5 separate regions of the Homo sapiens genome follow, and regions 1, 2, 3 and 5 are each linked to region 4. The links are contacts of gene promoters, found by promoter capture Hi-C in blood cells and fetal thymus (Javierre and others, 2016). All regions are on one chromosome and are shown on one strand. Each heading gives the region's core, a stretch centred on a gene start or on the middle of the fragment in contact. The rest is flanking DNA. Distances are from core to core; before and after follow the strand shown. Region 1 has its middle 17 kb from the start of PRSS35. Region 2 has its middle 3.0 kb from the start of PRSS35. Region 3 has its middle 2.9 kb from the start of ME1. Region 4 holds the start of IBTK (inhibitor of Bruton tyrosine kinase). Region 5 overlaps ME1 (malic enzyme 1).

The links. Contacts are between HindIII fragments. The CHiCAGO score rates a contact against its expected background, and 5 or more counts as called.
Region 1: a contact is called between a fragment that was not itself captured here and the fragment with the promoter of IBTK in region 4, in 1 of 17 cell types (M0 macrophages). The highest score is 5.6, in M0 macrophages.
Region 2: a fragment that was not itself captured here is called in contact with the fragment with the promoter of IBTK in region 4 in 7 of 17 cell types (M1 macrophages, M0 macrophages, M2 macrophages and 4 more); the score reaches 13.9 in M1 macrophages.
Region 3: a fragment that was not itself captured here is called in contact with the fragment with the promoter of IBTK in region 4 in 4 of 17 cell types (M2 macrophages, M1 macrophages, M0 macrophages and 1 more); the score reaches 13.6 in M2 macrophages.
Region 5: a fragment that was not itself captured here is called in contact with the fragment with the promoter of IBTK in region 4 in 2 of 17 cell types (M0 macrophages and M2 macrophages); the score reaches 7.4 in M0 macrophages.

Annotation. Positions count from the first base shown.
Region 1 is chr6:83,527,452-83,532,270 of GRCh38, forward strand. No RefSeq gene overlaps it. Among named protein-coding and RNA genes, the nearest start is that of PRSS35, 17 kb to the left of the region's middle. The HindIII fragment of the contact is 2,367 bases long and covers 550-2,916 here.
Region 2 is chr6:83,506,794-83,512,238 of GRCh38, forward strand. No RefSeq gene overlaps it. Among named protein-coding and RNA genes, the nearest start is that of PRSS35, 3.0 kb to the right of the region's middle. The HindIII fragment of the contact is 4,773 bases long and covers 261-5,033 here.
Region 3 is chr6:83,431,211-83,436,640 of GRCh38, forward strand. No RefSeq gene overlaps it. Among named protein-coding and RNA genes, the nearest start is that of ME1, 2.9 kb to the left of the region's middle. RefSeq lists enhancers at 1-114, 57-1,256. The HindIII fragment of the contact is 3,198 bases long and covers 1,219-4,416 here.
Region 4 is chr6:82,243,873-82,248,993 of GRCh38, forward strand. IBTK (inhibitor of Bruton tyrosine kinase) reads right to left here and starts at 3,872. Exons shown (of 29, transcript NM_015525.4): 1 at 3,690-3,872. RefSeq lists a silencer at 3,505-3,674. The HindIII fragment of the contact is 2,262 bases long and covers 2,767-5,028 here.
Region 5 is chr6:83,414,038-83,418,900 of GRCh38, forward strand. The region is part of intron 1 of ME1 (malic enzyme 1); the gene reads right to left. Among named protein-coding and RNA genes, the nearest start is that of ME1, 15 kb to the right of the region's middle. The HindIII fragment of the contact is 3,304 bases long and covers 1,647-4,863 here.

The sequences.
Region 1 (4,819 bases), core at 483-2,982, 1.3 Mb after region 4:
TTGCTTCATATACTTTTTCTCTTATGTTTATCAGATTTGAAATTGAGAACTAGATTGAACTCACTTAGCTAAACAAACATACTTACATGCATACATGTTTACTGTGTGCAAAGGACTGTACTGACTTATTGTCTGGAATCTTACCAATGGTGGATTTCAAATAACCATTTTCAAAACAACTGAAATTTAAAATTGTGGCATTCCCTCTTTATCTAAATAACATATTTTATTTTATTTTTTTCTTGTTCAAACGAAATGCATGTGGGTAGAAGCAACTTAACAATTTTTTCCTTTTTGATATGCTTCTTAATTAATCCATTGTTTATTTTGAAAAAGATTTAGATAATGTTTGATTGTCTTAGTCCATTTAGGCTGCTATAACAAAATATCTTAGACTGGGAACTCTTAAATGATAGAAATTTATTGTTCACAGTTCTGAAGGCTGGATAGTCCAAGAAGGAGGCATCAGTAGATTTAGTGTCTGATGAAGGTCCATTCCTCATAGATGGCACCTTCTTGTTGTGTCCTCATGTAGTGGATGGGCACCCAAGCTTATGCAAGCCCCTTTTATAAGAGAATTAATCCCAGTTATGAGGCAGGAGCCCTCACAACCTAATCACCTCCCACATGCTCTGCCTCTTAATACTGTCACCTTTGGGGTTAGGTTTCAACATACAAACTTTGGAGGGGTGTGAACATTCAGACAATAGCAATAACCAAGATCAGAGTTCTGGACACATTCTTACCCCTTCTTACTTGTAGATAGAATAATTCTTTTAAATTCTTATTTCATAGAAAGAATCTCAGGATAAGAAGAGACTATAAAAGATCATCAGTTTAACCCTATACTTTAAGTTTTAATCCCCTTCCATCACATTCTCTGCAAATGGTTGTCCAGTGATAAGAAAAATTTTCACCCCTTATTGTTTAGTTATTAAAATAAATTCAGAAATATAACTTACCATAAGTTATTCAGTTTGCTACATAGTGTAAAAATTATATTATGTATGTCTTGCATTTTATTCCAATGTTGACCATTTTAATTACTCATAAGTTTTTGTCCTTGTGTTAGTAACTCAGGTATTTATTCGCATCAAACATAAACTGTGATTATTAATTAAGAATATTGGGATAAGGCAATTTGACCAAGCACTGGATAGTACAAGAATGTGGCTCTATAGCTATAAATAACCTAGAATTAGCATCATTATTCTTTAGGGTGGTTTCCCAATAACAGATACTTTTTTGGCTACTGATTTTTAAAAGTACCTGCCAGGCTTTAAAAGTACTTCAATAAAACTACTTTTACTAAAAATGATCAGCAAAAACATCTTTACTTAATTAACAGAAGAGCCTTTTTAATAAACTGATTTTTGCAACTAGGTCATTGCTCTTTCTTCAATGGCCAAATCATTAGGTTCAGAGATATTTAGGAGATTTGGTCTAATCAGTGATGAAATCATGTCCTCGTCAAATAGCATCGACCTATAGGCAGATTCACAAGTTTTAATTTTTATTAAAATAAAATTTCAATAAAATCTTGCTCTGTTGCCCAGGCTAGAGCACAGTGGAGTGATCGTGGCTCCCTGAAGCCTTCCTCCTGGGCTCAAAAGATCCTCCTGCCTCAGCCTCCCAAGTAGCTGGGACTACAGACATGTGCCATCATGCCAGGCTAATTTTTAAAGTTTTTTTTTGTAGAGATGTGGTCTTACTTTGTTGCCCAAGTTGGTCTCTAACTCCTGGGCTCAAGTGATCCTTCTGCTTCGGTCTCCCAAAGTGCTGGGATGACAGGTGAGAATCACTGTGCCCGCCCACATGTTTTTATTGATTCACTATTCAACTAAGCGGAAAAACCATCCTCAGATGGTTTTCTTTTCTACTTATAAAATCTAGGGAGGGAAATTCCTTGCTTCTTCCTCTCTGTATTTAAAAGCTGATGTTTTGATCCAGTTAGCTAACTGTCTAGAACATGGTGGGCAAAATGACTTCTGATCCCAATATGGGCTAGTTTGCTTACCCACAGGTAAGGTGGTGGTGTTGCCATAACAAAACCCCACACACTGGGTGGCTGAAACAAAAGACATTTAATTCTCACAACGCTGGAGGCTAGGAAGTCCAAAGTCAAGGTAGGTTTCATTTTGAGACCTCTTCTCTTGTCTTGAATTGGCTGCCGTCTCATTGTATGCTCCTGTGACCTCTTCTTTGTGCACAAGCAGGATGACAGAGAAAGGGAGAGCAGACTCTCTCTGTTTTTTCATCTTATAAAGACACTAATCCCATCATGAGGGCCCCATCCTTATTACCTCATTTAACCTCAATTACCTCCCAAAGGCCCCATTTCCAAATACCATCACAACTGGGGGTTAGAGATTCAGCATGTGACATTTTTAGGGGTGGGTGTGGGACACAGACACACAGTTCATAACACGTATGTAAACCTACAAGTTGCACTAAACTTCTAAACCTACAAGTTGCACCTTGGGCCAGACCCAGGGAATTCACAAGCATGTGTCACTAGAGAAACTAGGCAAAGGGGTATGAACGGCAGCTCAGGACAGCCAATCTCTTTTTCCTAACTTTCATCATCATTATTTCAAGTACTCGTACCTGGCACAGAGGCAACGATGGATACATGCTTAAACTTATCACCAAGTATTCATTGAGGCTTACTCTTTCAGGGCATTACTTACTCTATGCTATATGCTGAAGCTCCAAAATGCTATAGGTATTGTCTTAATTGTGTATCATATTAAAAATATAGCGAAATATTTAAATAATGGGAATATTTTCTTGTAATGAGAATTTTAGTATTGGAATACACTATAGCGTGCGACTTAAGGAATTAGATATTTGACACATTCTCTGTTGACTCATGTATGTTTACGATAGAAACTGCCTTCAAACAGACAAGTGCCAAGCTTCTGTAGCTACACCTTATCCTCTCCTCTGCCATGTAAATATTTAATCAGACAACCTCTGCCTCAAAACCTGTCACCAAAATCTTTTTGCCTTAGTAGTATTTAAAAATTTCCAGTAACACCTTAACATCCATTCACTTTTCTCAAGCACAGAGGACAAGTTGCCCACTTACTTAGAATATCTACTTTGATCCACATTGCAATCAATCATAGGATCCATTATTGCCTCCCTGTGTGATTTTACCAACTGGGTTTACAGTTTACCAAACTGAGACTGCATGATCATATTTCACTTTGTATTTGTAAATGTTTACTAATATTCAACTAATATGAACTTGTGTTTATGTTATTGAAATCCTCTGTGCATGCTCATATTATACTTAAGTGTGTGTACACTTTCACACGCAGTATAGATAAGAGGAATACTTTGAACACTGTTCACACAACCGAACACAGATGAGTTTGGAAAGATCCTCTGGGCTTTTGCTCAGCCTAATTAACACTCATTTTCCTTACTTTTCTATATTATATTTTGCATTTAATTTCATTAGTAATTTGTAATATACCACACAATATCTCACTTATCTAGAACTTCCTTTTCTGATGACTTCAAGTATCTAAAATGTAACAAAAAAATTAAGTTAAACAGTGTCTTCTGAATAACCGACATAGATGCCACAAAATTACTTTTACTCTAGAAATAATCTTAACAAGTTGGGTTATCTGATTTCTGGAACTATAATGAGAAGGCTGCTACTGAGGCAAGTCCAACAGTCTCAAGAAGTGATAGCTGACAGAGAAGGAGGATGTAGAAAAAACATTAAACTATAAAAAAACCCAGGTATATAGGTACTATAAAATTTTAGTAGTTTGGAGCTACTGAGTTTGGGCAAGTAGCTTTGTGAGCCGTATTAGCCTGTGAAATCATAGCAATATATGTTATGTTTATAATGATGACTGAGCAATCAATATAAAATCATGATCAGTATGAGTTTTGAAAGGCATTACATGATAGAAAAGTTTTCATGAAAATGGCTTGACATTTTATTAAAGTCTTGTTTAAAATAAGAGAAACATCAGTGGTCAATGGAATTGACTTGTTTTTAGGCTCAAATGAAATTCTAGCCTCAAAAATTGAGGAAAAAATGTTACCGCAATATTTTGGTCATTCTTCAGGGTAAAAATATCTGAGTATTTTGAAGACTAATGTGTGTTATTGAAAGTTTGAAAGTTGTCGAATAGCTGCACCCAATTTATGCATACATACAGTGCTGTGAGATAGGCACAGTAAGTCTGGTATAATGAAAAAAGTTCAGGATGCAAAATAAAATACCTTAGTTGTCTAATCATAGTGGACTGCCCTGTAGAGAGCAAATGTTGACCAAATATAATGTGCTGATCATTGTAATTGGTATTGTTAATTGCAAAAGTTACCTAAGACAATCAATAGTTGCATATAATAAATTAGTTGCATTCTGTTTTACTTTATGTTTGTGAAAGACAAACTGGAATTTCCTAAGAGGAGAGATCAGCAATCATGTGGTCCTGTAGAACTAAGGTGATTGTGTGTGCTGGTGCAAATTTTGTTCTCTGAAACTAGACATCCTCCCTTCCCCAATATTATGTTACTCCTAAACTTCAGCTTACCAGAGTTTGTGGTATAGCTCACAACACAACATATTTCTAAGAACAGTCCATTATGGAGCCTACCTCTTCTCAGCTAGCTAAGCAATCCGGGGATCTTCAGAGCAATCTAATACCCAGAGTACTAGGGGCTTCTGGAAGGTAAGGAAGAGAGACCTCTTTCTGATACCTGTGTGTTTCCTTGACCAGCCCTTCCTCTCCTATTAATTGATAGGAGTCAAAACTCTGCAATTTTTGCTTTACTTAGAATTTAAACT
Region 2 (5,445 bases), core at 1,397-3,896, 1.3 Mb after region 4:
TCCCAGAGTACGGATATACCATAGTGTATTCAACTATTTTCCTTTTATGAGCATTCACTTTATTTCTTCTTTTCTGCTATTACACAAAAATGATTGCAATAAGTATCCCTGTACATAGCCTTGATTTATTTTGAGCCCTGAAATCCTCCCTTTCCCTCACTCCTTATGTTCAGTCACCAGCTCACTCAATTTGAATCCTGTGACATCTTTGGAATCTGCTCTCTCCCCATCTCCACCTCCATGGCTACTGCCTGGTTTGAAGCTTCATAATATCTAGCTTGAACTACTGTAACAGTGTCTTAGCTGTTCTTTCCACTCTAAGTTTAAAAAATTTCTCTCTCTCTCCCAACAATTCCTTCTGCTTCCAGGATTCCCTTTTTGATATGCAAATGATCCTTATATTTTCTGGTAGCCCCCACACATGTAGTTTGTGCAGTTGGCTAGGAGTAAAAGAAACAATCATGCATTGGAGATGGCAAATGGAAACCAATACTGACAGCATATGGAGGCAACAACGAGTGGTGACACCTGCCGACCTCAAGCGGGCCTGTTCCATCTAAACTGTTAGCTCCTACTTAGCTTCAGCTGACTACTGCCATGAGGGAATGTGGACCAGACTTGCCCGATGGTCTAATTTCTCTCTCTCACACACACAGAAACCTAGAAATCAAATTTTTAATGAAAATCTTCAAATTTTCTGGCCACACCAAAACATCTGCAATCTGAAATGTTTGTCCTTCAGGATAAAATGTGACTCAGCCTGTGAGTTATTCCCATCTCTCATTGTTCTCCACATCTATCATCTCTTCATTGATGATCCTGTCCTGTTTATTCATCCTCTAGGAGGTTACCTAAATGTGATGAAGTGTATTTGATTTAATGGATACTTCGTCTCTGGATCTAGTGAGAGTCTTGGGGCATTATAAGAAAGAGAAGGAGCTGGGCGCAGTGGCTCACACCTGTAATCCCAGCACTTTGGGAGGCCGAGGCAGGCAGATCACTTGAGGTCAGGAGTTCGAGACCAGCCTAGCCAATATGGTGAAACCCCATCTCTACTAAAAATACAAAAATAAGCTGGGCATGGTGGCATACACCTGTAGTCCCAGCTACTCGGGAGGCTGAGGCAGGGCGGGAGAATCGCTTGAGCCTGGGAGGCAGAGGTTGCAGTGAGCCAAGACTACACCACTGCACTCCAGCCTGGGTGATAGAGCAAGATTCCATGTCAAAAAAGAAAAAAAAAAAGGGAAGGGAGAGTATAACAGAGAGAAGCTGACATTAGAGGTACTGTGGTCTCTTGCCTTTCCTCGGAGTCACGTGGAAGCACAAAAACCAGTCATATGTCACGTACTAGACTCTGCTCCTGGGGCCAATTCCTGGCTCTCCTTATTGAGCACTTATGTGCCCGGTCACAGCTAAGGGTGTCCACATACATTCTTACATTTGCCCTTCATAACCACTCTTCCAGACAACTTTTATCATGCTAACTTTTCAAATGAGGGAATAGGGACTCCCAGAGGTTAAGTGGCTTGGCCCAAATCACATGGCTAATAAGCGGCAGTGTTCAGGTTTAAACCTTAGTTTCCTAATCCCAGATATATTTCCATTGAGTACACTGTTCTTATCCATAGTGGGTTCAGTTCCATATTCAGAGGCCATGTAGAAGGAGGAGGAATAGCCTTCATTCTTCTTGACTGGGTATGTGATTAAATAGGTAGTTTGCCCAGGATATTTTGACTTTGATAAAGCTCTTTATTGAAGGCTTATTCATGTCATCTAGTAATTTAATCATCATTTCCAGAGCCAAGAAAACATGTAATAATAAAAAATAAAACAAAAAGCTATCATAAATTTTCAAACTTGGAATATGAATGACTCTGATCCATTAGCCTTAATTTACAGGCCTATGAATTAAACTTTACAAGAGTCTCTCTCCTCTGGCAATGTCTCATGAAATCCTGTCTCTGGGAGACTTTGTGGTTGGGGCCCAGTGCTTTAGTCCTGGCTGCATTTCCCGGAGTTCGTGTCCTCTTCAGATTTTTAATTTATACTTATTTATGATGCTTCTAGGTTAAGTCTCTGGTTTCTGTAAGAACTCTGGTTTCCTCTCATAATTCACTCTATTGTGTCTAAACTACAGATGAGAGTGGTAGAATGTCTTGATTCTGGTCCATTTGATTTTCTCAGTTAACATTTGTTAAACATCTAAGTTGCAGGTACTGTACTTAGTGCTGGATATATAAAAGTTTTGCTGTCCTTGAGGCTGTCCTATTTGGGAGGCAGACATGGAAAAAAATAATTCCGAAACAGTGTGGCAAGTACCCAGGACCAGTGCTGGCGCAAAGGCAGTAGAGAGATCAACACTGCCTATCAGAAAGAACATGACCCAATGGAGGAGGGGCTGCACTGAGGGACCCAACTTTCAGATTTTTGGGGGAACACATCATTGCATTTCCTTGGGCCACCCAGAAAGATAGAGAAAGCCAATGGTTTTGCAGGTTTGTGGAGCACCAGCAACTGTTCCTCAAATTAGCAGATCATAGGTGGCTTCTATCACAGTATATCTACTTTGAGGACAAATGCTACCTTATCTTTTTTTCTTATTACATCTGCTTAATTTTCTCAGTCTGCCTTAACTAAGGGACCCCTAGGTTTTTAAACAGGCACAACCATACAACCTAATAAATAATAAAGAGGGTTTTGATAAAACCTTGGGATTAAAAGTTAACAGGAAGATTACAGCCAAAGCAATTCAGGTCCCTTTACAAGGTTGAGTCATCAGTTAGACCTTCACCATGGACCATGAAACATCTCCTCTTCCTGTCTTTCCACAGCTAAAACTTTCCAAGTACATTTCCATGATAAGTAAGATTTAGTCTTGGATAGAGATTTATTCTATTCTGGTCTCAGCCTCTTGGGAAAGCAAGTCCAGAAAAAAAAGCTAAGTAGTATAGCCTTAATCATAGCCAGGCCTGACAGTGGTCATGGCTTCTCTTCTAGAGAGGCCACTGCACCCCTCGTGACCTGAAATGTGACAGAAGATGTGTTCTGGGCCTCTTGGTTCCATTTCTGGAGAAGCATACAAATGCCTCCATTAAGCTGGGGACCTCACAAAGGACAGATAGTTATCAGTTTTGTTGGTGCATTAACCAAGAATTTGGGTTGTATTAAAAGTAATTTGATAAAGTCTTTGGTCACAATAGTCACAATAATTGAAGATAAAGTCTAGGACCTTGGGGAGACATGGCTGGAAACTTTGTTATGAGTTTATTTTTTTTAACTGATAACATTTCCTATAATGCATTATTTCCTAAAATGGTAAGAGTTATATTATCCAAAGTTTGCATTCCCATGTGGAAAGCTGGTTGAGAAGCATTGGAAAATTATAGGACCATCATTACAAGTCCAGAATGAGGAATTTGATGGGTTGACAATCTAGTTTGGTATGGTTTCTGAACTGCTCATACTTTGCTATAGAATACCTGAGGGGCTGGACTAGGCCAGGAGAGGAAATCCTGCTTAAGAGAAGCCAGAATTCTGGCCAGTCACGGCGGCTCACTTCTGTAATCACAGCACTTTGAGAGGCTGAGGCAGGAGGATCACTTGAGGCCAGGACATCAAGACCAGCCTAGGCACCATAGCAAGACCCTGCTTCCACAAAAGAAATTATTTAAAAAGCTGGGTGAGATGGCATGTGCCTGTGTACCTGGGAGGTGGAGGTGGGAGGATTGCTTGAGCCCAGAATTTGAAGCTGCAGTCAGCTATGATCCTGCCACTGCACTCCAGCCTGGGTGACAGAGTGATAATTTAAAAACCCTGTCTCTAAAAATTTAATGAATTAAAATTTTTTAAAAATAAGAAGCCAGAAACCTAGAACTAGAGAAATAGTAAATACGAAGCATCAGGACCAGATGAAGTAAAGCGATAAATTTTGAAAACAGTCAAATTAATGATAAGACAACCTGGAATAGATCCAGAAATAGGGTACAAAAGGGCTTGGGGTCAAAGGCTCAAGAAGGGGGGCATGAAAATGAAAGAGCCCTGGAAGTTTGCTTTCTGTGATGCTAGTGGAGAATGCTGAATAAAGTGAAGGAAGCAGACCTGGGTCCACAGTGAATCCTTCTGGATTTATACAGTGTTAGAATCCCAAAAATGTTTGAGAGCTGCAGGCCTTGGAACTCCTCCAGCTCAACCATCTCAATTTACAGATGAAAAAGCGGAGGCCCAGGGCACACAGCTATTTAGTGTCAGGCGGAATTCCCATTCTGAGTTCTGGACTTTCTCTGTGACTTCTCCACACTCCATCTGACTAGCAAACTTTTTAGTTCCACGTCTAATGCAGCAGCTACTATATGCCAGGCCCTGTGGTAGATGGTGGTGATTCAAAGATGCATATGACTATTATGATCTAATTGGTGACAGAGAGCTTCAGAACTAATTCTAACTGGTAAAAATTACCAATAGATTTTAATATATGGGTAAATGCTTATGTTAACAATGCTAAATGAGAAAACAGCAATGAAATTGTATATATAGTTGGCCCTTGGACACATATTTGAACTGCACAGGTCCACTTATACACAGATTTTTTTTTTCACCCAAAAGCGGATAGAAAACAGTATTTTCAGGCAGAAATGCTTAAACAGAGGGCAGACTTTTCCTATACGCGGGTTCCCCAGGGCCCACAGCTGGACTTGGACTTGAATATGGGATGATTTTAGTATGGGGGGGCGGAGGGGAAGAGGGCCTGGAACTAGTCCGTTGAGTATAACGAGGGACAATGCTAAGTATGTTATAATCTCATTAAAAGTACACAGAACTTGAGATACGCAATAACCTACTAACGAACCAAGTGTTACAAGACATGCTAAGACCTTGTGTTGTAAGTACTTGTGCACTTACTCGATCTCCCTGCTTTAGGGCCAGGACCGAGTTTTTTTGTTTTTGTTTTTGTTTTTGTTTATGTATTCTCTCGTTGTATCAGTTCATCTTGCCCCAGACCTGTCACCCACTAGAATTTGTTGTTAAACAAATGAAGCTTCCTTTCTCATGTGGCCCCCACCCCTCTCCTAAAGGAGAATAAAAGGTCGAGAGAACGGATGAGGTTAGAATGCTGGTGGGACTGAGATGGGAAAGGACCTTAAAGGTTACTCGCCCAAAGAGGAAAACCAGCCTTTTCCCTGCAGACGGAAACTGACGCGCTCCCCCTGGAGGCAGCGCAGGATGCTCCCGGGGGTCCAGGCGTCCCAGCCTGAGGTCCCCATCCTCGTGTGCAGCCTGGGCGCCTGGTACAAGTCGGGGTAACCCTGAGGCTTGTGCATCCAGAGAAGCTAGGTCCCCGGTGGAGACTAGCTTGGGATAAGGTTGGGGAGACGCCCTCCGTTCTTCTAGATGCCTGGGGTCTCAACAGCAAGCAGTGAGGAATGAGACTCTTAACTGAACAACTCC
Region 3 (5,430 bases), core at 1,568-4,067, 1.2 Mb after region 4:
GCGTGTGAGGAGGAGGAGGAAGAGCGAGTCCTGGCAGCGCTGCTGGTGGCGGAGCGGGGGTGGCGGCCGGAGCCCTTGGCTCCATAGGGCCTCTGCCCACCATGGGCTTATGATCACCGCTGTGGTCGCCTCTCTCCATGTGGGCATGCCTAAACGCAGTGCACTGGGTGGCTCTGCTGACCCCAGAGACCCAGGGCGGGGGCAGGGAGCGGGGAGCGTCAGGCCAGGATCCCCCTGCCCGGGAAGGCTGGAGAAAGTGCGAGAAGATGCCAGAAGGTGCGAACCTGAGCGGTTCAGGCAGAGCCGGCGGTCGCTCAGACACCTAGGGGGATTACAGGACGGAAGGACTCGTGAGGGGTCCCCAGAACTGTTGACAGAACACCTCGACAGGCTGAGGAGAATCAGACTCGTCTCTCCTGTCTTGTTAGCGTCTTGGAAGCCCTCTTTCTACAGATCCACAACCTTCGCCGTGCCATCCAGGATGCCGGCCATGCCCGGGGCCCTGAGGCCGGAGGGAACCAACCTTGACCCAGAATGCCGAGGCCCAAGGGAACTGGGAGGAAGCCCAGAGAGGAGAGCTCAGGCGCCACACCTGTCAGTTTCTACAGATTTTCCACCGGAATTGTATTTGAATGTCAATAAGATAAGAGTCAAGGTGTTAGGGTGCAAAGGCCCAATGAACAGTCCTGTTTATCTTGTATATTATTTCTCTGGGAGTTCTAGAAACCTGATGTTCAAGAACCACTGCTCTCTCTGAATAATGATGAGTAAGCAGTCTTTCAGGCCTTCCTCCCAACCTCAGGTGATCCGCCCGCCTCCGCCTTCCAAAGTGCTGGGATTATAGGTGTGAGCCACCGCGCCGGGCCATTTTTTTATTGTTTTATTGATATTTATGCTTGGAGGTTCATGGACTGGAGGAATAGTCAGATCATAGCCAAAAGGAGTGCCTGTCTGATAAAAATAAATTAATAGCAACAGACACTAAAGCCTTCTGTGCCCCAGTTTCCTTTTCAGTTAAATAGGATTGCTAGTTTCTGTCCCATTTGTCTCTGCATACTGATATTACAAAGGATAGTGTTTGAGATTATTTGCTGATTTTATATCTCCATATACTAGACACACATCCAATCACAGTGTTTTCATTTCTAGTTATGTTAACTTTGCCTTATCAGAAAGATTTCTTACAGTAATTGTATTTTGTCCGTATTTACATTTAGAAGCTTCTTTGACCTCGCCTGAATTATCTAGAATTCGTTGTTTTTATAGAGAATATTTTCTAGGCATCACAAAGTTCTTTTTGAAAAAAATCCTTGAAGTTAAATGACACCTTTCATTGTTAATTCTATACTCCATAAATACTCAATCCTACAACATCTAAGAAAAAGGTGTACTTTACACAACTCACTCTCCTGAATTAACTGAGACACATTACAGTTAGGGTGTTTTATGTGAGAGGAAACAGTTTAACAGCTGGCATGGGAGCCAATTCAAGCTGCTTAAGAAGAAACAAAAATGTTAGTACAACAGACCCTTATTATAATAAAGTACTTATTACATGAATTTAGATATACTACCTACCTGTTCCTGTTTCTGAGATTTAATATCTACAGATAGGAAAAGTGTTATAAGTACAGGGAGTAACCCACAAAGAGTATATGGCCTCTCCCTCAAAGGCAACATTACAAGGGGATTACAATATCCTGCCAGTAGTAGGTAAAGTTCACATCTTTCATCTGTATGTTTATTTTAATTATTAAAATAACCGCCGTCATCTTGAATGAAACAGGATAAGGCCTAGCTGAAGAAGCCATTTAGTACATTCATATGTAGTTCCAAGAATACTAGAAAGAACCTATTTTTCTACATAAATGTTAGCTAGAATATCAAAATTTTCAGTCTTTTTTAAATAATAATCTCATAAGGTTAGGTTTTATTTCCAAAAACGTAGGAAAACAGATGCAGAGAAAAAAACTGCTTTAATTTGCCTTGTAACAAACTGTGGTTGCACTGTCACTCTGAAAGCAATTGGTAATGTTAAGAATGGGTATCATTCACAAATTAAGAGACTAAAACATAGATTTCTGTTATACACAGGTGAGAATGCCATCAGTCAAAATCAGATTTTTCTTTCCCAAGTTATAGTTTAGCACACAAAGAGCTTTTACAACATAAAATATGATTGTAATAGATACTCTGATGTAATGTCAGTTGAGATTGCAAGTATAGAAAATTCAGGAAATAACTCTTAGTACATACAGCAATTCTAATATTTTACTTTCATGAGATAAAAAAGATTAATAGAAAAAATACATATCTAGGTGAGGATTTATAATATTAACTAAATGATTCTGTATTTCTTCACACAAAAAGCACACTACTACTATGTCTTCAAAATCTAGTGTGCATTTTATAACACATCTCAATTTAGACACCAAATTTTTATCAGAAATTTGATCTGTATTTCAATTTTATAAAACTTACATTTGCAATAGTAGACTCTCATACCTAACTTGTTGCAAATATACCTTAAAGTTTTCCAATGACTAAATTGAGTATCTGTTTTATATTTAAATTAAAATCAAATACAATTTAAACTGAGTATCTCATTTGCACTGGCCACATTTCAAATGCTTAGTAACATGCCAGTGACCATCGAATTAGAGAGCACAAGTCTAATCCAATGCATTTGGGCCCTTAATTAAATGTTTTAAATAAATAAAGATCAAATATACATACCTGTGTTATTGTAATGTTCATACAGATGTTGTTACATGAATCGCAGAGTAACTCAAGTTATACTACCTTATTAGTTTCACATATATAGCTATTTATAACCGTAAATGCATGCAACATACTGATTTTCTTTACAAAGCACTGATTCTTTTCCTTCTTCTCAGATAGTCAACCCAGTTGTTTCATTCCTCAAACCATTTTGTTAAAAGTTCACATCCCAGTTGATAACATGGCATATGGAATAAAATTCTAAATTAGTAAAACTGCATTTAAATAAACCTTCTGAAATTCAGATGTCCACATAACTATTGTACTTCAAGACAGCAAACTGCTGGAGAAATTTTGCACATACTCTCAACATTGCTGCCATTATTTTCCCCCCAACAGAGTCTCACGCTGTTGCCCAGGCTGGAGTGCAGTGGCGTAATCTTGGCTCACTGCGACCTCCGCCTCCTAGGTTCAAGTGATTCCCCTGCCTCAGCCTCCCTAGTAGCTGGGGTTACAGGAATGCACCACACATCTGGCTAATTTTTGTATTTTTAGTAGAGACAGGGTTTCACCATGTTGGCAAGGCTGATCTCAAATTTCTGACCTCAAGTGATCTGCCCGCCTCAGCCTCCCAAAGTGCTGGGATTACAGGCGTGAGCCACAGCATCTGGCCAGCTGCCATTATTTGAAATGTTTCTCAGTTCCTCTTTTGGAATTATTTCTTATTTACTCTGGGTAAACACTATACCACATTCTTTTAAGAGCATTTTATTAGTTTCAGGCCAGGCATTGTGGCTCACACCTGTAATCTCAGCATTCGGGGAGGTCAAGGCAGGAGGATCACTTGAAGCCAGGAGTTCAAGACCAGCCTGGGCAACAAAGTGAGACCCTGTCTCTACAAAAAACTTGAAAAAAAAAAAAATTATCCCGGTGCGGTGGCATGCACCTATAGTCCCAGCTATTCAGGAGGCTGAAGCAGAAGAATTGCTTGAGCCCAGGAGGTCAAGCCTACAGTGAGCCACGATTGTGCCACTGTACTCCAGCCTAAGCAACAGAGCAAGGCTCTGTCTCAAAAAAAAAAAAAAAAGATTATATTAGTTTTACGTCCACAGGTACCAGGGATTAGAACTTCAAAATATCTTTTCAGGGGACACAGTTCAATCCATAACAAGAATGAAGTCTAGAATCAGACTGACTGGGTTTGAATCTTTCCAGCCCTGTGTCTTTGAAAATCTTATTACCTCGGGGCCTCAGCTTCCTCATCAGAAAAATGAGGATATTAAAAGTACCTGCCTTTTAAAGTTGTTATGGGGATTAAAAGAGGTGATTTTTGTGTATTTATTCAATAAATATTTACAGATTAACCTACTATGTGTCAGCCCCTGATATACGCCCTGGAAGATTTATAGTGAATAATACAAATTCTCTGTCATCTAGAAATTACATCCTACTGAGATAATAAACAAGCTATACTATGTCATATCATATAATACAGATAGACATGTAAAGCACTTAGAACAGTGCCTGTCCCATAGTAAGCATTCAACAAATGTTATTCCTTTCCTTCCAGATCTGGTTCATCTTATGAAGCCATTCCCCATTCCCTCACATTATTTCCCCCTTAATTTATTCAAAATGTTTCTTGAACACTTCCTCTATGCCAAGCCTTAGACTAGGCACTGGTATGCAAACATAAGCTTATGGGGAGAAACAGCCAATACACAAGTAAAGAAGTAGGTAATTATGAAATCCGAACTGTAAAAGAAATGAGTGTGCACTTCAGCAATTAGCAACATGAAGACTGATATTTTTGAATATTCATAATGTTTTAAATTGTATTTTTATTGGTATTTGGGATGTCTTGTGTTTAAGTACTTGAAAATCTCTCTGAATGGTAGAAGTATTCTTTCAAATGTAAATAAAAGATAGCTTCAGTAACACTTCGCTTCTATGTTCATAATAAATTTGCCCCCACTGGGGATATTCCCAGAAATACTTCAATTTTGAAGGGGGAAAATACTCATTTAGACAGATAATAGCTGGTGTACTTGTCAACAAGGCATTAAAGTTAGTAATCTAGAATATAGACTTTGGACTAAGAGTTCCTGGGCTCCTGTTCCAATTTTGCCAACTTTGTCAAGTTACTTACCTCCCTTTGTCTCCTCCAATGATTTATCCTCATCATAGTAAGCCCTACATGGGTATTTGTCAAATGAAAACAAAGACAAAAATAAATCAGGTGCATTTCTCTGTATACTTACTTACATCTTTTAAAAAGAAAACGCTATCAATCACTAAAAGAAATTCAAATATTGACCAGGCACGGTGGCTCATGCCTGTAATCCCAGCACTTTGGGAGGCCGAGGTGGCAGATCACCTCATGTCAGGAGTTCAAGACCAGCCTGATCAACATGGAGAAACCCTGTTTCTACTAAAAATACAAAAATTAGCTGGGCATGATGGCACTCTCCTGTAATCACAGCTACTCGGGAAGCTGAGGCAGGAGAATCGCTGAACCTGGTAGGCGGAGATTGCAGTGAGCCAGGATTGCACCGCTGCACTCCAGCCTAGGCAACAGAGCAAGACACCATCTCAAAAAAAAAGAAAAAAAAGAAAAAAGAAAATAAAGAAAGAAATTAAAATATTCTAAGAATATAAATTTTACTTACAATTTTAGCAATTACAGGTTTTGGCTTTAGAAAGTAGAAT
Region 4 (5,121 bases), core at 2,622-5,121:
TATATATAATGTAAACATTTAAAGGGGGGAAAAAAGAATGTTAAAAAGTCATTCCATACTATCATATAGAGAAAGCGGCACCTACAGAATACTATGAACATAAACATGGAAGCGATTAAGAGCTAGGATTTCTTAGAGTTTTACATACATAGATTCAAATATAGCAATGTCAGCTGTTATCAGTTATATAACTAAAAAATGACATAATCTCTCCAAGTCGTTTCTTCATCTGAAAATAGAAACAATCCATGGACTTCACATGGTTACTATAATGATAAATGAAACTACCTAACATGGTACCTGGCACTAAATATGCATTCGACAAATAATAGTTTTCATTACTATTGTTTCTTCAGTCATAAAAAGGTAATACATTTTAACTCCAAAATTCATGTTTGAGCTTCATTATCACTTGTTACCACTTCTCCAAAGAAATCATTATTGCTAAAGTTACTAATGACTTCCAAATTACCAAACACTTTTAGATATTTTCAATTCTTACTTGCCTTCCCTGCTTTTATGTCTTTAAAACCTCATTCCCTTAAGGAGTCTAAAAGAGATCCAGGAAGGGCAGGAAGTCGCAGAAACATTTAAGCATGGGCTCTCTCTCTTAACCACTTCTTCCTAGGGCATTATCGCTTCCCCTGTCCTTCAAACTGGGCTTCTCTGAAATAATCCTCAGTCCTCTACTTCATATTGTTCCTGATAGTTTCAATCCTTTTCATGCTTTTAACTCTACCGTACACATGATTATAAATCCCCAAATCTGTCTCTTGCTCACATATTTGCCCTAAACTCCAGGCCCATATTTCCAATGCCTATTGTACTTCTTATCTATGCATTCAAAAACTGCTTAAAGAAGGGGAAGAAAGCAAAGGAAATAAGCATTTAAAGACCTAATACATACGGAATGCTTTACATCAGACCAGTCAAGTAAACCACCTAAATCATACCACCAAGAAAAGAGGGAGTCAGACTTCAAATACAGATCTGTTTAATGATGAGGTCCGTGCTATTTCTGCTACGTTACACTGTCTTCTTCAGCGCATCCATAGTAGGTCACAAGGCATTGGGAATACAAAAATAATTAGGACCTAAATATTTTAGATAAAATAAAATACAGGTTCATGGATAATACTCAGGTGGATGCATAGCTAGTTTAACATATGTACTAACTGAACAAAACTTATGATCTATTACACAGTTCCTATTATCAAAGGGTCACAGTTTGGTAGAAGAGAGTAATTTTATTTAGGCAAGTAACTAAAACATATCATAATTATAAACCTATGGTCAAGATAAAACAAGTGACACATAGGAACGGGGAGTGCAGAAGAGGGGTCCAGGTAAGACTTTCTACAGGAGATAAACTATGTATAAACTAAGACTTAAAAGATGAGTACTGGCCAGGCACAGTGGCTCATGCCTGTAGTCCCAACACTTTGTTAGGCTGAGGCAGGCAAATCACTTGAGCCCAGGACTTTGAAATCAGCCTGGGCAACATGGTGAAAGCCATCGCTACAAAAAAAAATACAAAAATTAGGCGTAGTGGCACATCCCTGTAGTCCCAACTACTCTGGAGGCTGAGGTGGGAGGATCACTTAAAACTGGTCAGTCAAGGCTGCAGAGAGCCAAGATCATGCAACTGCACTCCAGCCTGAGCGACTGAGCGAGACTCCTTCTAAAAAAAAAAAGAGTACCATATGTGTTGGCCTGATAAATTCTGGGTGAGAGCACATTTGAAGCAGAAGGGATAGTAAATATAAAAGAACTAGAATCATCTTGGTCCATTCCAAAATTTCTAAATAATTCAGAAGACAGAAAGAAGTGAGGCCTAACATACACACAAGGATAGACAGGATTTTGAACAGCCTTATGTGCCTTTTCTTAGAGATTTAAAAAAAAAAGGGCAGGCAATCCAAAGACATACTTAGGATCTTGAATTGACAAGATGTGGTGGTAATTCCCAGGTTTCTGGCTTGGAGAACAGATAGGGAAACTAGAAAGAAGAGTAAGGGGTCAATACTTTGGAAGTGAGTAAAGCAAAACAAAATTAAACAACGGAAAAAACACACAAAAATTATAGGTGAAATTTTGTTTTATACATTATACACAGTGCTCTACATAAATATAATCCTTATTATTGCCCCTGTAAATATGATCACTTTCATTTTCTGATGAGGAGATTCATGTGAAAGTTTAAAAAGCCTACCTAAAATAATACCGACAGAAAAGTGCTCTTGATCCCACCTATTCTATGCTACCAAACTGCTCTCCCAAAAGGCAGTTAGAAAAATTTCAATGCAAGTAGTATAGTGTAGTAGAAAAAAGTACCATGGAATTCAATTCAAAATAATTGAATTCAAAAGCAGTTTGGTAGGGCAGCTGGAGACTCAAGCGATTCTGCCTCAGCCTCCCGAGTAGCTGGGATTACAGGCACACATCACCATGCCTGGCTGATTTTTTTGTATTTTTGGTAGAGACGGGGTTTCACCAAGTTGGCCTCGAACTCCTGACCTCAAGTGATCCGCCCACCTTGGCCTCCCAGACTGCTGGGATTACAGGCATCTTTTTTTTTTTTTTTTTTTTTGAGATGGTGCCACACTCAGTCGCCCAGGATGGAGTGCAGCGGCGCGATCTCGGCTCACTGCAACCTCCACCTCCCGGGTTCAAGCAATTCTCAGCCTCCCCAGTAGCTGGGATTACAGGCGTGAGCCACCGCGCCCGGCCTAAAAAATTTCTTGAAGTAAACTCTGGTTTGACTAAAGCTTCTGCAAATATTTGCAAATGTAATTATTTTTAGAAACCAGTTTTGTCCTCATCTACCTTGCCTCAATTTCTAAAACAAATAAAAGTTAAGGAATTCAAAATACAAAAAGAGAAATGATCAAGAGGGGGCTGGCAAGCCTGTGAATTTACACCACTTTATGGGCACTGAAACACTACTACTCATAAAAGTCATATCCTTTCAGTATTTCTGATAAATTTCAAATGGCCTACTTCGAGGCATAAGTTAAAAGGTGCTACATGAATCTCTGGCTAACACAGTCAAGTTTTATGAACTACGTTGGAAAACAGGAGTCAAGGACGGCCTATGTTACCTAATTCGCAGCTGAACTAAAACTCTTTGAGCCAGACAGCTCTGCCTGTTACAAAAACAAAGGGCCTGTCTTCTCTGTCTCTCTCAACCCTCCACCCTCCAAAAAGAATCAGTTCCTTTTTACATAGCAATCAATGTCCACTTATCAGATTTCACGACCTGCTTCCCCAGAGTCAGTATCCCCAGGGTGGACTCAAACTTGTGACTCCAGGAAGGGGATAAGGAACATGAGCGCCCACAGGAATGGCTTCAAATCCAAGACTCGAAGGAAAGTGACACTACATAACTATCACAACTAGGAATGCAATGTCGCTGGAGGGCGTGTCCAGCAGGACGGGAGCGTAGCGCATCGCCGGGACAGGCCATTCATTAGCTGAGGGGGGCGGTAGGGACCCTGGCCACTCGGCCCTCTCCGCGCCGCCTCGCGCGAAGCCCGGCAGCCTCGGGGCCACAGAGTCCCCTCCCCACGGTCCCCCCGCGCCGCCGTCCGCAGCCACCCGCACCCTCCAGAAGGCGAATACTCTCCCCCTGCCCCCGGGCTGAAGGGAAGCCGCACCGCACGGTCGGGCAGCGCCAAGCCCTCCCTCACCAGTCGCTAGATGAAACTGCGCCGGTGGATTCCGCAGGGTCCACATAGAGCCACAAAGGGACTCATCCTCAGTGAAGGCAATAAGAGAAACCGAACGGCGCCAGAGGGGCCAGTCCCCAGACCCGGGTCAGTTCGGCAGGCGGCTGCAATACAGCCGCTACTACAGGAATCGGGAACGGGGATGTAGAGGAAGGGCCCGAGCGGGCGGTTCCCAGTAATAAGGCGGGCGCTGGTTGGCTGGGGCTCCTGTATGTCTCTTGATGATTGGCTGGTGCCTGCCCAGAAGGTTTCGCGTGGCAGCACCTCTGCCATGGCCTTTTCCCTGGCGCCCCAAAGGAACTTGACCTCGCCGGCCTTGGGGCCGCTGACTCAGGCCAGGGGCGGGGAAAAGAAAAAGGCCGCAGCGGGGAACTCTAGGCCAACAACGGTGATGGGAGTGTCCCTTTCAGGCCAGCCATCTCGTAGTTAGAAACGTCTCTCTAGGTAGCTGGAGACTCGCGGGGGAGGCTAAACCCGAGTGGAGAAGGAGACCTGGCAGGATGCCTTGGACACCCGGTCGCTACGCAGCAGAAGCCAAGTGCATAGGCGTCCTGCACAGAAGAGTTTCCTCCCATGGCCTTAGCAGTGGGGTTACTGCAAAGCCAAAGGTGTAGTCTCCGTAAACCCAGCCTCACCCCTCTCTGGATCTCCATACACCCGGATTATCTGGCAGTCACTCCCTTGGTCAGAAGGCGTCACTGCCCTCTTAGATCACCACCGTAGGACTAGCTGCCGACCCGGGTCACGCCACTCACTGCCTGACACCAGGCTTACACTAGGCTTTTTCCACTTGAACTCTGAATCTAAAGGCCATTTAGAAAGTGGTCAAGTGAAAAATGCTAGGAGGGACAGTAGCCAATAATCAATACTAGGTTACTGAATGGGAAACACACTGCTGCTGAATGCCTAATACGGTAAGCACTCAGTAAATGATTGTTCAAGGAGGTGTAGTGTGACTCAAAACAAACGACACTAAGAATCATGAGTTGGCTGTACAGCTCTGCCACGTTGAGTTTTACAAGCCACTGAGTCGACCTCATCTAATCTCTAAAAGAAAGGAGTTGCGCATGTCTTAATGCCCACTGAGCTCTGCTTGCTCTCTTTTGAAGCCTTTTTTGTGGGAGGGTAGGTTACTAGCCCAAAGCCACACAGCTGCTTAGCGAAAGAGAAAGGGAGACTAGGACCCAGCCCTCCTACTGCCCTTCCCAGCACATAATTGTTTCTTTGCTCTTTATTCTTAATGTCCTTCTACAAAACAAAAACCAGTTTGTAATGTCAAAATTGAGTGGTTTTGAAAATAAGCTTAAGTTGGCCGGGCGCGGTGGCTCACGCCTGTAATCCCAGCAATGTGGGAGGCCGAGGCGGGCGGATCACGAGGTCAGGAGATCGAGAC
Region 5 (4,863 bases), core at 2,049-4,548, 1.2 Mb after region 4:
GAGGTTAAGGTTGCAATGAGCTGAGATCACACCATTGCACTCCAGCCTGGGTGACAGAGCAAGACCCCATCTTGAAAAAAAAAAAAAAAAAAAACTAAAAAAATTTATTTTTATGGTGGTATCCAACCTCATTTCCCCCCCAAAAAAAATCAGCCAGATGACATATGTATTTACACGGTAAAGTTTACATCAGAAAATAATCATATAAAAATAATTACTTTGAATGCATTTAACTATACAAACAAATTCTTTATTAGTCTCCTTTAAAGGACAGAAAACCAATTATTTAAGGCCAACAATATATTAAACACAGCTTCTTTACACAAAAGATCATTTGCTTTCATTCCATAGTAATTAATTTTTACTCATATCTGATATAAAGTAATTTTAACCTGTTAATGATTATAACAATATATCTAAAATATATTCAGCTAAGTCTTGGCCTTTGATACCCTAAAATTTACAGCAAAATATCACTTTATAGTACCCCAAAATTATTTCATTGAGGTATGAATATAGGATATAAGCAAGTGTAACAATTTTGTGATTTAAATGACATGTTTGCTTAAATTTTTTTTTAAAAAAAGAAAGAACACCTCTACCTAAGAGAGCAAATGGGTTTTTAAAACATTGGATGAGAGGTTTAAGTATTTCTCACTTAAAAGTCTTATTACTGATCGTTATAGATTCTTTGTAAGGCTGAAAAATTGTTAGCCAACAATGTCAACACTAAATTTTCCCAAATATATCTCTTGAAATCATTGAAATCATTTGAAAAATTTCAAAAGCTTTTCAGCAAGATGGAGCACTATTTTATCATAACAAGTTGTAAGGCAAATTTCACTGTCACTAAACCAATAGAGAAAAGTATCTGTTAAATAAGCAGATTGAGACTTCTCAGTAAATACCTGAAACTAGCAATGGACACAAATGATGAAAAATCAAAATTTAAGATCTTCAATTGAAACGTGTATGAATAATCCAAATAAACCACTGGTTGCCAATAGACTTCCTAGTTATCATACGTACCTTTATACTATTTTTTAAAATCTTATATATGTGACAAAATCCTCTATGCCTATGATAGTGTGTATAGTGATTACTCATATAATGAACCAGAAAGATCAGAATTATAAAATAATCCTCTATTGTGTCTTGATTTCTTAACTCTTCAAGCTAATAGAAGAATCTGCAGACTATGAACATTAGACAGCAATTCCAACACATTTAATTACCAATTAATTTACACACGAAGTTGCAAATGTCTGTTTCTTCCTGTGTCCTTTGCCTATTCCTGAATAATGATCTCCTTCAAGGGATAATTCTATCATAGAATGTCCCATAGTTCATTGTTTCTGCTTACCTGCCATTTTACCCAGGTCTGGAAGACAGGCACTATACTATTCATATTTGTATGACAGCACCTAGTACAATGTCGGGATGGAGCAGGGCCTTAATAAATTTTAAATAAGCAAATGGATGTATAAATACATTAATGTGAAACAAATTTTCAGTACTCTGTAGTTCGGTTCTGTGTAGTTCTATTTTGAATAACCAAATCACCGAATTCAAATTTCAAACAAAGATTTATTTATGCAATAGTACAAAGAGTGCTCATGATTTAAAAATCTCCCAAATAATAATTAAGCTTTCCACATATACCTTAGGAAATCATTTAATTAAACTAATCCACTATTAACAAGTTTTTTCATTGACTTTAAACCAGGCATTCAAGATCAACTTTGGTTTGACCAAAATATATATCTACATATCAGCATAAGTGCCAGAGTTTATGGGGATTTTTTAAAGTACTTTCATCTTGACCAGGTTTCTCAATCTTGGTACTAGTGACATTTTAGGACAGACAATTATTTGTTGTAGGCAGCTATTCAGTACATTTTTGGTATTTAATAGATTGTAATAAGCCATACACTAGAAATTTAGATGCACACTTCACCAACAAATATGACTGAATAGCAACATAAGACTAAAGGGTATACCATTTGTCAAGTTTGAGTCACAAGTAGATATTATTTAACACTTGATTTTGAGCAAATATTTAAGGTGTTAAGGGTTAAATGGAGATTTGCCTCAATTATTGCATCTGCTAAATAAGACTAATCAACTATTTACTGAACACATAGTACATGTTATGTGTGTTTCACTGGGTTGTTGGGAAGAAAAAAATGAGACCAGGTGTTTTTGCATCCTACGTAAATTATAAAGTGTTATATAAATGCTTATGGTACAAAGTTTTAAAATAAAGTCACTAATATGCACATGCTACATGAATATTGACTTTTATTCTTCACATTTCAGTATTGTCTGAAAGCCTCTGAGTTTAAGAATCAGTTTTCAGAGACCAAGGTCAGTGCTTCTGGTGAAGAACCAATTTAGCCCCCTATCAGAGGCTTTTAACTTAAAATTCACAGACCTAATCACAGATCCTCAAGGTATGGATGAGTAATTAAGGAGGCCTGAACTTGGACATCTTTTTCACAAACTCTATGAGATTTAGTATTTCCTTCCATTTTAAATGAAATAAACAAGAGACATAATAGTAGTTCCTGGCCAGGCACAGTGACTCACGCCTCTAATCCCAGCAGTTTGGGAGGCCAAGGCAGGAGGATCGCTTGAGCTCAGGAGTGCGAGACCAGCCTGGGCAACATAGTGAGATCCCCATCTCTACAAAAAAAAAGTAGAAAAAAATTAGCTGGGTGTGGTGGCATGCACCTGTAGTCCCAGCTACTTGGGAGGCAGAGGTGGTAGGATGTCTTTGGCCCGGGAAGTCAAAGCTGCAGTGAGTCAAGATCATGCCACTGCACTCCAGGCTGGGTGACAGAGTGAGATTTGTCTAAAAAAAAAAAAAAAAAAGTAGTTTCTGTGTCTTTGTCATAATAGAAATAACAATTATTTTTATGCCATGTTACATCTGTGGCATGTATCTGGAAATAACATTCATGTTCTTCATTACTTTGAAATTACTGTAGCTTTAGATCTGCAATAAGGTTTTGTTTTGCTTTGTTTTGCTTTGTTTAGAGACAGTCTGTTGCCCAGGATAGAGTGCGGTAGTATAATCATAGCTCACTGCAGCCTCGAATTCCTGGGCTCAAGCAATCCTCTTGCCTTAGCTTCTTGAGTAGCTGGAACTATACGCATACACCACCACATCTGGAAAAAAAATTTTTTTTTGAGACAGGGTCTCACTATGTTGCCCTGATTGATCTCAAATTCCTGTCCTTTGTCCTCAAGCAGTCTTCCTCCCTTGGCCTCCCAAAGTGCTGGGATTACAGGAGCCACTGTGCCTAACTAACATGTTTTTTTTGTTGTTTTTTGTTGTTGTTGTTGTTGTTGTTGTTTTGAGACGGAGTCTCACTTTGTCGCCCAGGCTAGAGTGAAGTGGCGTGATCTCGGATCATTGCAACCTCCGCCACCCAGGTTCAAGCCATTCTCCTGCCTCAGCCTCCTAAGCAGGTGGGACTACAGGCGCGTGCCACCATGCACAGCTAATTTTTGTATTTTTAGTAGAGACGGGGTTTCACCATGTTGGCCAGGATGGTCTCGATCTCTTGACCTTGTGATCCACCCGCCTTGGCCTCCCAAAGTACTGGGATTACAGGCATGAGCTACAACGCCAGGCCCAACTTTTTTTAATAACATGAACAGGCACACAGGCCAGTCATGCAGACAACCTTGATATTGATCTCTTTAAAAAATAAAACTTTACTTTAAATTGCCCATATTTAAATATATTATCTTGCTATATGAGTCTTCAATAAAGAGGAATATATCTTACAATACACACTTGTAAATATATTTGTTAATATTTTGATACCTATATTTAATTACAAGTGGTTTCCTTTGTAATATTATGTATACTGTTTATTTAAAATCATTGATTTAAGGAGACCACAGACTTCATCAACTTTCCAACTTTTGTGCCTTTGGCACAAAATATGTTGAAAACTGTTGCAGAGGACTGTTTCAGTTTCTTAAGGGATATATACCTCAGACATGATATTCCCAGAAACACCACAAGATGGCTTTCTTGCTTCAGATCCACTGTGGAGATTTGCAGAAATGTTTTCTCTCTGCTTTTACAGTTACTTTATGGGCGGTTGTGAAGCTCGCTGTATTGGTCAGTTTTCCTAAGAAACTGAACCTTTATATATATGAAGAGATTTATTATGAGAGAAATAGTATAATTGGCTCACATGATTATGGAGGCTGACAAGTCCAAAGACCTGCTGCCAGCAAGCTAGAGACCCAAGAGAGCCAATGGTAATGGTGTAGATCCAGTCTGAAAGCCAGGAGGTTCAAGACCCAGGAAGAGCCCACATTTTAGTTTGAGTCCAAGGGCAGGAAAAATTTGATGTCCCAGCTTCAGGACAGTCAGGCAGGAGAAGTTCCCTCTTACTCAGCTTTTTCGTCCTTTAACTGATTGGATGAGGCCCACCCACATTAGGGAGGGCAATCTGCTTTACTCAGTTCAAATGTTCATCTTATCCAGAAACACTCTCACTGACACTACAAGAGTTACAAGAGTAATGTTTGAACAAATGTCTGTGCACCCTGTGGCTTAAGCAAGTTGACAGATAAAATTAATCATCACACTCACAGATATCATTGAGTGAATGCTTACAATGCATACAGGAACTACCCCAACGAAACAGTGGCTTGTCAGGTATGATCCATAGTCTCATTAGGCTTACAATATAAAGAGCTTAACAGGATATTATATGAAAAGCTACACAAATAACTATAACAATTGTGATAAGTACAGGGAAAAGAAAAGGAAGAACTTAATTTAGACAGTTAGAGAAATAGTTCACTGAGGAGTAATGTCAAAATGCAATCTGAAGG